Linked DNA regions of Homo sapiens: region 2 is linked to region 1. The links are contacts of gene promoters, found by promoter capture Hi-C in human tissues and cell types (Jung and others, 2019). All regions are on one chromosome and are shown on one strand. The core of a region is centred on a gene start or on the middle of the fragment in contact, and the rest is flanking DNA. Distances in the headings are between cores, read along the strand shown.

What was found. Contacts are between HindIII fragments. The study calls those that stand out against the background at their distance.
Region 2: a fragment that was not itself captured here is called in contact with the fragment with the promoter of PCDH8 in region 1 in 2 of the 25 tissues and cell types used here (H1 embryonic stem cells and dorsolateral prefrontal cortex).

The regions. Positions count from the first base shown.
Region 1 is chr13:52,846,425-52,850,918 of GRCh38, reverse strand. It overlaps PCDH8 (protocadherin 8), which reads left to right and starts at 2,279. Exons shown (of 3, transcript NM_002590.4): 1 at 2,279-4,494. The coding sequence starts at 2,483. RefSeq lists enhancers at 251-545, 1,891-2,185, 2,316-3,205, 3,206-4,094. The HindIII fragment of the contact is 11,047 bases long and covers 1-4,494 here.
Region 2 is chr13:52,945,909-52,949,802 of GRCh38, reverse strand. No RefSeq gene overlaps it. Among named protein-coding and RNA genes, the nearest start is that of OLFM4, 81 kb to the left of the region's middle. The HindIII fragment of the contact is 3,578 bases long and covers 1-3,454 here.

The DNA.
Region 1 (4,494 bases), core at 1,030-3,529:
TCCGGCCCCATTTCCACCCACTTTCCCCACCTTCCGGGTCCTCCGCCCGGCAGCAGCAGCGCCAGGCGGGCCTGACCTTGCCCTGGGTACGCCAGCGGAAGCGCTGAGGCCGCTGTCCACCAGCCAAGTTCTGAACCTGTTCCCGTCTGGGTCTCCGGGGGAAGAGGGGTGAGGAGAGATGACGTTAGCCTAGGGGCGCTAAAGGTCACCAGCCAGCCCCAGGTTGGGGTGGGAGTGTTGCGGGGCTCGGAAGGAAAATAGAAAGTTCCTTCGACTGCGTGTACCCCCCAAGGAATATCTCTTGGGCGGGGACGGTGGGAGGGCTACATACTAAATCGCACTTGGGAGATGGAAGACAGCGGAAGAAAGGGCTGCGATTTGGGCTCCTGTAGGGGGCGCTCCTCCTTCCACGTCCCCACGCGGCTGCAGATGCCTGGCCTTATTGCTTTTAGCATTCCCAAGACTACAAGGTGGAAGAGGTGGAGAAGGGAACCCAGAGACACACCCCTCTGAGGAAGTCTCCAGCCACTCATCATCCCCCTCCCCAGTCTTATAAGAGCTTGTATTTATGGATGGCTGGAGCTGCATGTTCCGCTCTCTGACAATTCCAAGCACCTCTCATCCCTGCCACCCAGCTCCCTGCTTGGTCTCCCTACTCCAAGGAAACTCCTGACCCTCTTCTGAAAAAAAACCCAAAACACACTCCCTCGAGTTTGAGGGAAAGGAAAACATGGATAGGACGCTGACAGCAGGACCAAAATCGGGATTCTGAAGAATGTTTACTGAATTCAATCTACTTACCAAACCTATCGCCTAAAAAGAAAAATTTCTTCCAGTGAGTGGCTTTTGTTTTTTACCTTTCCTCCTTCGTGTGTATTTGCATAGCCTGCTCAATAAAGCCCTTCAGTAAGAATCATTAAGAATCCGTCTTGTTGCAGATCCGAGCTCCATCTCCCTGGCCGTCAGGGATGGGAGGGGGCTATCTGTGGGGCAGCGCAGCGCCCGGCCAGCCCCAGGATCCGCCCAGCCCAGATTTTGGCAGTGCCGAAGCTCCACACTTTCCTAAGCAGATGGTTAAGTTCCCCCCACGTTCCTGCCAGGTTTCAACGTCACGCTGTGATTTTGTTCTTCTGGAACCGGACGAGTGTTGCTTCCCAGAGTGGCCCTATTAGAACAGAAAGAAAATCCTCTAAATAGGCGGAACAAGGCATCAGGAGGAAAAAGTTCTCTAAATGCACTTTAATACGAGCCGGGTATTGTGTGGAATTCAGCGCCCATCACCGTTTAGCCGGAGAGTTATGGCAGTGATTGGGGATGAATAGAGGAACATAATGGATACATGTGGCGTTTGCTCATTATATTCAAGTTAGTCCAACTCCGCTGTGGAAACTGTTCAACTTTCTCTCCCCTTAGCTTGTCACAGTGAAATAATACAGACATTGGGGCCTCCAATGGGATCGCCTGCCACACCATTCTATTTCCACTGCTAACGAGGGCTTCATAAGCCTTTGATACAGTCTGATCTTTGAAACCTTTCCAAATCTCCTCAAGCTTATGCTAAATCCTATTTGGAACTTTTTTTTCCTTGCCTGCTAGCTCCCAGGGCTTAAGAAGGCCACTTGGACAGTGACGTGCATACTAACATATCGCGGGGCTCTTTTCTGAAAGGGAAGTGGCAGCTCTGATCACTGGGGCTCACACGAGCAAAACACAATTGAGTACACAAATTTGAATAAAATCAATTTTCCCTTATCCTTCAGGCTTCTTAATCGAGAGGCTATTCCAGGCACCGTAGCTAGGAGAGAAGGAAAGCAGAGCCTCATTCAGCAGAGCAAGTCTGTGGGTAGGGGGCTGCAAGGGTTTGGAAGCGTCAGAGGTGCAAAATGCAGAGTGTGTGTGTTGGCAGGGGCTGGGGGAAGGCGGAATCAGGAGCCACTGGGGTGAAACCCCAGCGTGTTCGCACTTAGTTCTAGCCGCGGCACGGAGGGAGGCAGGCGACAATTAACAAAACCATCCGCTCCTTTTACTCCTGGAGCCCTGTGCCAACTCCTCTACATGCAGGGTGCTGACAAGAAAAGGGGGAAAAAGCAAAAGGAGTTAAACAAAAGAAAGATTCCCTAATTTTCCTTTCTTGTTTTCCCCTCTAAGCCTTTCCACATTAAAGGGATTGTCAGAGGCAGGCGGAGGGGCGACGCGAGGGGGAGGCGGCCATTGGCTACCCGGCTCGGGTGATTAGCATATCGGCGGCTATAAAGGCAAAGGCGGCGCGAGGCGGCGCAGCTTCTGTAAGAGACGGAGAGGCGCAGAGTGAGGGCGGGTCCGCGCGTCCTCAGAGCCCGCTGGAGGCTCGGAGCTGCTACCCGCAGACTTCTCCCGCACAGGGCTCGCAAAGAGCGTGATTCCGAGAGCCTGAGACTGACGCCCGACCTGGAAACCAGAGAAGACTTCCTTAGCCTTTCGGATCGCACTTGAGGCTGGAGGCATGAGTCCTGTGAGGCGTTGGGGCAGCCCCTGCCTTTTCCCCTTGCAGCTCTTCAGCCTCTGCTGGGTGCTCTCAGTGGCCCAGAGCAAAACAGTCCGATACAGCACCTTCGAGGAGGATGCCCCCGGCACGGTCATCGGGACCCTGGCCGAGGACCTGCATATGAAAGTATCGGGTGACACAAGCTTCCGCCTGATGAAGCAATTCAACAGCTCTCTGCTCCGGGTGCGCGAAGGCGACGGGCAGCTGACCGTCGGGGACGCCGGCCTGGACCGCGAGCGGCTGTGTGGCCAGGCCCCGCAGTGCGTGCTGGCCTTCGATGTGGTCAGCTTCTCGCAGGAGCAGTTCCGGCTGGTGCACGTGGAGGTAGAGGTGAGGGACGTCAACGACCACGCGCCGCGCTTCCCCAGGGCCCAGATCCCGGTAGAGGTGTCCGAGGGTGCGGCAGTGGGCACGCGCATCCCCTTGGAGGTGCCGGTGGACGAGGACGTGGGCGCCAACGGGCTGCAGACCGTGCGCCTGGCCGAGCCGCACAGCCCCTTTCGCGTGGAGCTGCAGACGCGAGCGGACGGCGCTCAGTGCGCAGACCTGGTGCTGCTGCAGGAGCTGGACCGCGAGAGCCAGGCCGCCTACAGCCTGGAGCTGGTGGCCCAGGACGGCGGCCGCCCGCCGCGCTCCGCCACGGCTGCCCTCAGCGTGCGCGTCCTGGATGCGAATGACCACAGCCCGGCCTTCCCGCAGGGCGCCGTGGCCGAAGTGGAGCTGGCGGAAGACGCGCCCGTGGGCTCCCTGCTTCTCGACCTGGACGCAGCCGACCCCGACGAGGGACCTAACGGCGACGTGGTGTTCGCATTTGGCGCCCGCACCCCGCCGGAGGCGCGCCGCCTCTTTCGGCTTGACCCGCGATCAGGCCGCCTCACCCTGGCCGGGCCCGTGGACTACGAGCGTCAGGACACCTACGAGCTGGACGTGCGGGCGCAGGACCGCGGACCCGGGCCCCGCGCTGCCACCTGCAAGGTCATCGTGCGCATCCGAGACGTCAATGACAACGCACCCGACATCGCCATCACCCCGCTGGCCGCCCCAGGCGCGCCGGCAACCTCACCCTTCGCCGCTGCCGCCGCCGCCGCTGCACTCGGGGGAGCGGACGCTAGCTCGCCGGCGGGAGCCGGGACGCCGGAGGCTGGTGCCACTTCGCTGGTGCCGGAGGGGGCGGCGCGCGAGAGCCTGGTGGCCCTGGTCAGCACCTCGGACAGGGACTCGGGCGCCAACGGGCAAGTGCGCTGCGCCCTCTATGGGCACGAGCACTTCCGGCTGCAGCCGGCCTACGCGGGCAGCTACCTGGTGGTGACCGCGGCGTCGCTGGACCGCGAACGCATCGCCGAGTACAACTTGACGCTGGTGGCCGAGGATCGCGGCGCGCCCCCGCTGCGCACAGTGCGGCCCTACACGGTGCGTGTGGGCGACGAGAACGACAACGCGCCGCTCTTCACGCGGCCGGTCTATGAGGTGTCGGTGCGCGAGAACAACCCGCCAGGCGCCTACCTGGCCACGGTGGCCGCCCGCGACCGGGACCTGGGCCGCAACGGCCAGGTCACCTACCGGCTGCTGGAGGCCGAGGTGGGCCGCGCCGGGGGCGCCGTGTCCACTTATGTCTCGGTGGACCCAGCTACCGGAGCCATCTACGCGCTGCGCAGCTTCGACTATGAGACGCTGCGCCAACTCGACGTTCGCATCCAAGCTAGCGACGGCGGCTCCCCTCAGCTTTCCAGCAGCGCCCTAGTGCAAGTGCGCGTGCTGGACCAGAACGACCATGCGCCAGTCCTGGTGCACCCGGCGCCAGCCAATGGCTCCCTAGAAGTGGCGGTGCCTGGGCGCACCGCAAAGGACACGGTTGTGGCCCGTGTGCAGGCCCGGGATGCAGACGAGGGAGCCAACGGGGAGCTGGCGTTCGAGCTGCAGCAGCAGGAGCCGCGCGAAGCCTTCGCCATCGGCCGCCGCACGGGGGAGAT
Region 2 (3,894 bases), core at 416-2,915, 99 kb before region 1:
CGGATCCAGCAGGAGTGAATTAATAATTGCTGGCAACGAGCTCCTGCAGCAAGCAGCTCCTCCCCATCAGGGACCGTTTGCCCTTCTTCAGAGAGTCCTCCATGACTGCTTTGCAAACTCTGTGTGAACGAAAAGCTTAGTAGTATTATGTATTCTTAAGAGTCCCCTCAATTTCAGAAAAGCTCATGGCTGGGTGTCAGGACACTGACTTTCTTGGCTAGCTCAGCCACAACTGGGAGGTTAACCTTGAGTGGGTCAGAATCTCTGTAGGTCTTGTTTCCATATCTGTACATTTTTAGGTCTAGAAACCCAAGTGAATGAGCCATAACCCTTCCCCATCTCCAGACTCTATTGCTGTCACTTAAATTCAGTCCCTCCTCATGCACCTGAGATCTAGTGCCTGGGTCATTGTTCCTGGGCTACAAAGATGCTACAGCAGCTTCTTCACAGTTGATCTGACCTGGGGCACATGAACCAACAAACAGCCCCATCTCAGGTTCTTTCCTCCTCCACCTCCTAATGTGTCTCAGTCCACAGGTCCTTGGTCTCTACACGCCCCCTGTTGACTTCTCTTTGAGGCATATTTGGGGCTCACCCTAAGCCCTTGCTCCTTCCAGGGCCTTTAGCAAGAAGATTATGGTGCCCACCCACCTAGTTCCATGAATAATACAAACTAAATGTGCATTTTGGAAAGCAGCCAAAATATATGCTGAAATTTTCACTTTTTTTAAAGTTTCTGATAATGTTTGAAAAAGTTTATCAAGACTGCATTTTTCTTTTCTTTTCTTTTCTTTTCTTTTTTGAGATGGAGTCTCACCACTCTGTCACCCAGGCTGGAGTGCAGTGGTGTGATCTCGGCTCACTGCAACCTCCGCCTCCAGGGTTCAAGCAATTCTCTGCCTCAGCCTCCCAAGTAGCTGTGATTACAGGCCCCCGCCACCACGCCCGTCTAATTTTTGTATTTTTAGTAGAGACGGGGTTTCACCATATTGGCCAGGCTGATCTTGAACTCCTGACCTCGTGATCCACCAGCGTTGGCTCCTAAAGTGCTGGGATTACAGGCGTGAGCCACCACGCCTGGCTAGGCTGCATTTTTCTTAACCCACCTCACTGAGTCTTCCCACTGGGTGGGGTCCCCTAACCTTGCTTGAAAGGGCTCCAGAGAAGCTCTGCATGTTGGCCCCTTAGCACAGCTGCTTAAACTGAGTGTGGTCACCTGACAGGGCTAAACCAATCAGAATCTTGAGAGGAAAAACAAGTCTGAAGAGACAAAAAAGCTACAGCCCCCACAGAGTTGGGTGCTGGTGCTGTGAGGCTGAGGTCAGGGTCCTTGCAATGGTAAGGACAGTCAAGGGCAAGCCAAGTTACAACTGCTTGCAGAGGAAGCCAGACTAGAGGAGAAAAGAGCAGATGTGCAGACAAGAGACCAGTGCAGCTCCAGAGAGACAATCTGTCCCTGCTGACAACTCCTGATTCCTGGGAGACTTGGCTGCAGCCCCTGCAATTGAATGCCATGAGATTCCCTTGAGTGCTGACTCTTAACCCCCCTTCCCCTACCCTTGTTACCAAAAGTGTGGTCTGTGAGACAGCAGCATGGGCATCACCGGGGAACTTTTTAGAAATGCAGAACCTCTAGCCCTACCCCAGACCTAATGTAAACAAATCTGCATTTTAAAGAGATCTCTGGGTGATGTGCACATAAGGTCTGCTTTGGAGGGAGTTTCTCTTCCTGTTAAGACACCCTGCACTTGGTAAACCCCCACGCCTGCTGGTGTCTCTGCCACTCAGCCCCGCTGCTGCAGCCTCTCAACCCTGGCACTTCCCCAGCCACCCAGCTCAGCGCCTGGGTCTGACATCCAACAAATCCAGCAAGGAGTAAATTAATCATTGCTAGAAACAAGCCCCTGTAGCCAACCAGCCTCTTCCTTGAGAGGACAATCTGGCCTTCCTCACAGAGTATACCACCACTCTCTGCTTCCCTGACTCCAGGGGCAGGGGCGGGAGGGACTGCTGCCTGCAGCCCCATCGCTGCCGGGTTACACCCTGCAGGGAACTCTCCAGTTACTCTTAAGGCTGTGGGTCCTGCCTGCCCTCAGCTTGCTCAGTGGAACCTCTAGAACCAGCTTCTGCCCAGTTTCCCCAGCCCCTGGGGCAAAGTGTCCCCCTCTTTGTCAACCCACAGAAGGTCTTGGGGCTTGGCTGCTAGAGGCCTGCTCTGGTGACAGACACTGGACCTAAGCAGGTAGAGTCTTCTAGGCCCCCACTGGCATCCAGGAGCCAAGTCTCTAGGCTACAACTTCTCTGCCTGTGTCAGAGGTTCCAAGATTGAGTGTGTAAGACACTGGACTGATGGGAAGCCTCCTATGGGCAAGGACAGAGGAACACCATGCCACACAACCACACATACACAGTTCCTCCAGGAAGACTGGTCAGAGTGCAGCCAGAAAGCCCAGCCTGCTCAACAGAGAGGTCTTCATGTCATCTGGGTGGGTCAGAAGACTCAGTGAAGGAAGGAGGTACCCAACCCTGATGTTCTACCTAGGCCTCCTGCCTTACACATATTGCCAAATGTGGGCCAGAGTCTCCCTAAAACCACATAACCATAATCACTTGCATCTCCTATTGCTTTTAGAGTCTGCAAATGTTACTGTGCCTTATCTCCTTGAAGCTTCACAAGAGCTCCAACTTACTCTAAAGTGAACATGGTCATTCCCCAAATGAGAGACCAGGGCTCAGACAGGTGAAGTGGTTGACCCAAGGTCACACCAGTTGTGGTGGAGCTGGTGCTCAGACAGAGGTTTTCTGACACTGGTCTACTGGTCTACTGCTCTAGTGCTCTAGGCAGCCAAATTTCTTTTTTTTTAAATGTTTCATTTTTAACTTTTGTGGTTACATTGTAAGTGCATATATTTATGGAGTATATGAGATGTTTTGATACATGCAATGCACAATAATCACATCAGGGAAGATGGGGTATCCATCCCCTCAAGCACTTATCCTTTGTGTTATAAACAATCCAATTATACTCCTTCAGTTATTTTTAAATGTACAGTGAAGTTATTATTGACTATAGTCACCCTGTTGTGCTATCAAGTAGTAGATCTTATTCATTCTTTCTGGTTTTTTCTACCCATTAACCATTCCCACTTTCCTGCACCCCCTACTACCCTTCCCAGCCTCTGGTAACCATCCTTCTACTCTCTATGACCATGAGTTCAATTGTTTTCATCTTTAGATCCCACAAATAAGTGAGAACATGCAATGTTTGTCTTTCTGTGCCTGGTTTATTTCACGTAACATAATGACCTCCACTTCCATCCATGTTGCAAATGACAGGATCTCATTCTTTTTTATGACTGAATAGTACTCCATCATGTATATGTGCCATGTTTTTCCCCATTCATCTGTTGATAAACATTTAAGTTGCTGCCAAACTTTGGCTACTTTGAACAGTCATGCAACCAAATTTCTTAAAAGAGTTTTTTTTTTTGTGCTAGCCCATATTATTTTCCACCTCTCGATCTCTTCTCAACACACTCTGGACATCTTCCCTCATCTTGCCACAAAAACAGCTCTCAAAGTTACTGAAGAAATCTGTTATAAATTGACTTGGCACCCCAAAAGGATGTGTTTGAGTCCTAACCCCTAGGATCTGTGAATTTGACCTTATCTGGAAATATGTTCTTTGCAGACATAATCAAGTTAAGATGAGGTCAGACTGGATTAGGGTGGGCCCCATCTAATGCGACTTGTGTCCTTATAAAAAGAGAGAAAGGCATGAAGACACACAGAGGAGAAGCCTATGAAGGCCTTGTGAAGATGGAGGCAGAGAATGGAGTGATGCATCTACAAGCCAAGGAATGCCAAGCATCTCCGACAACCACCAGAAGCTGA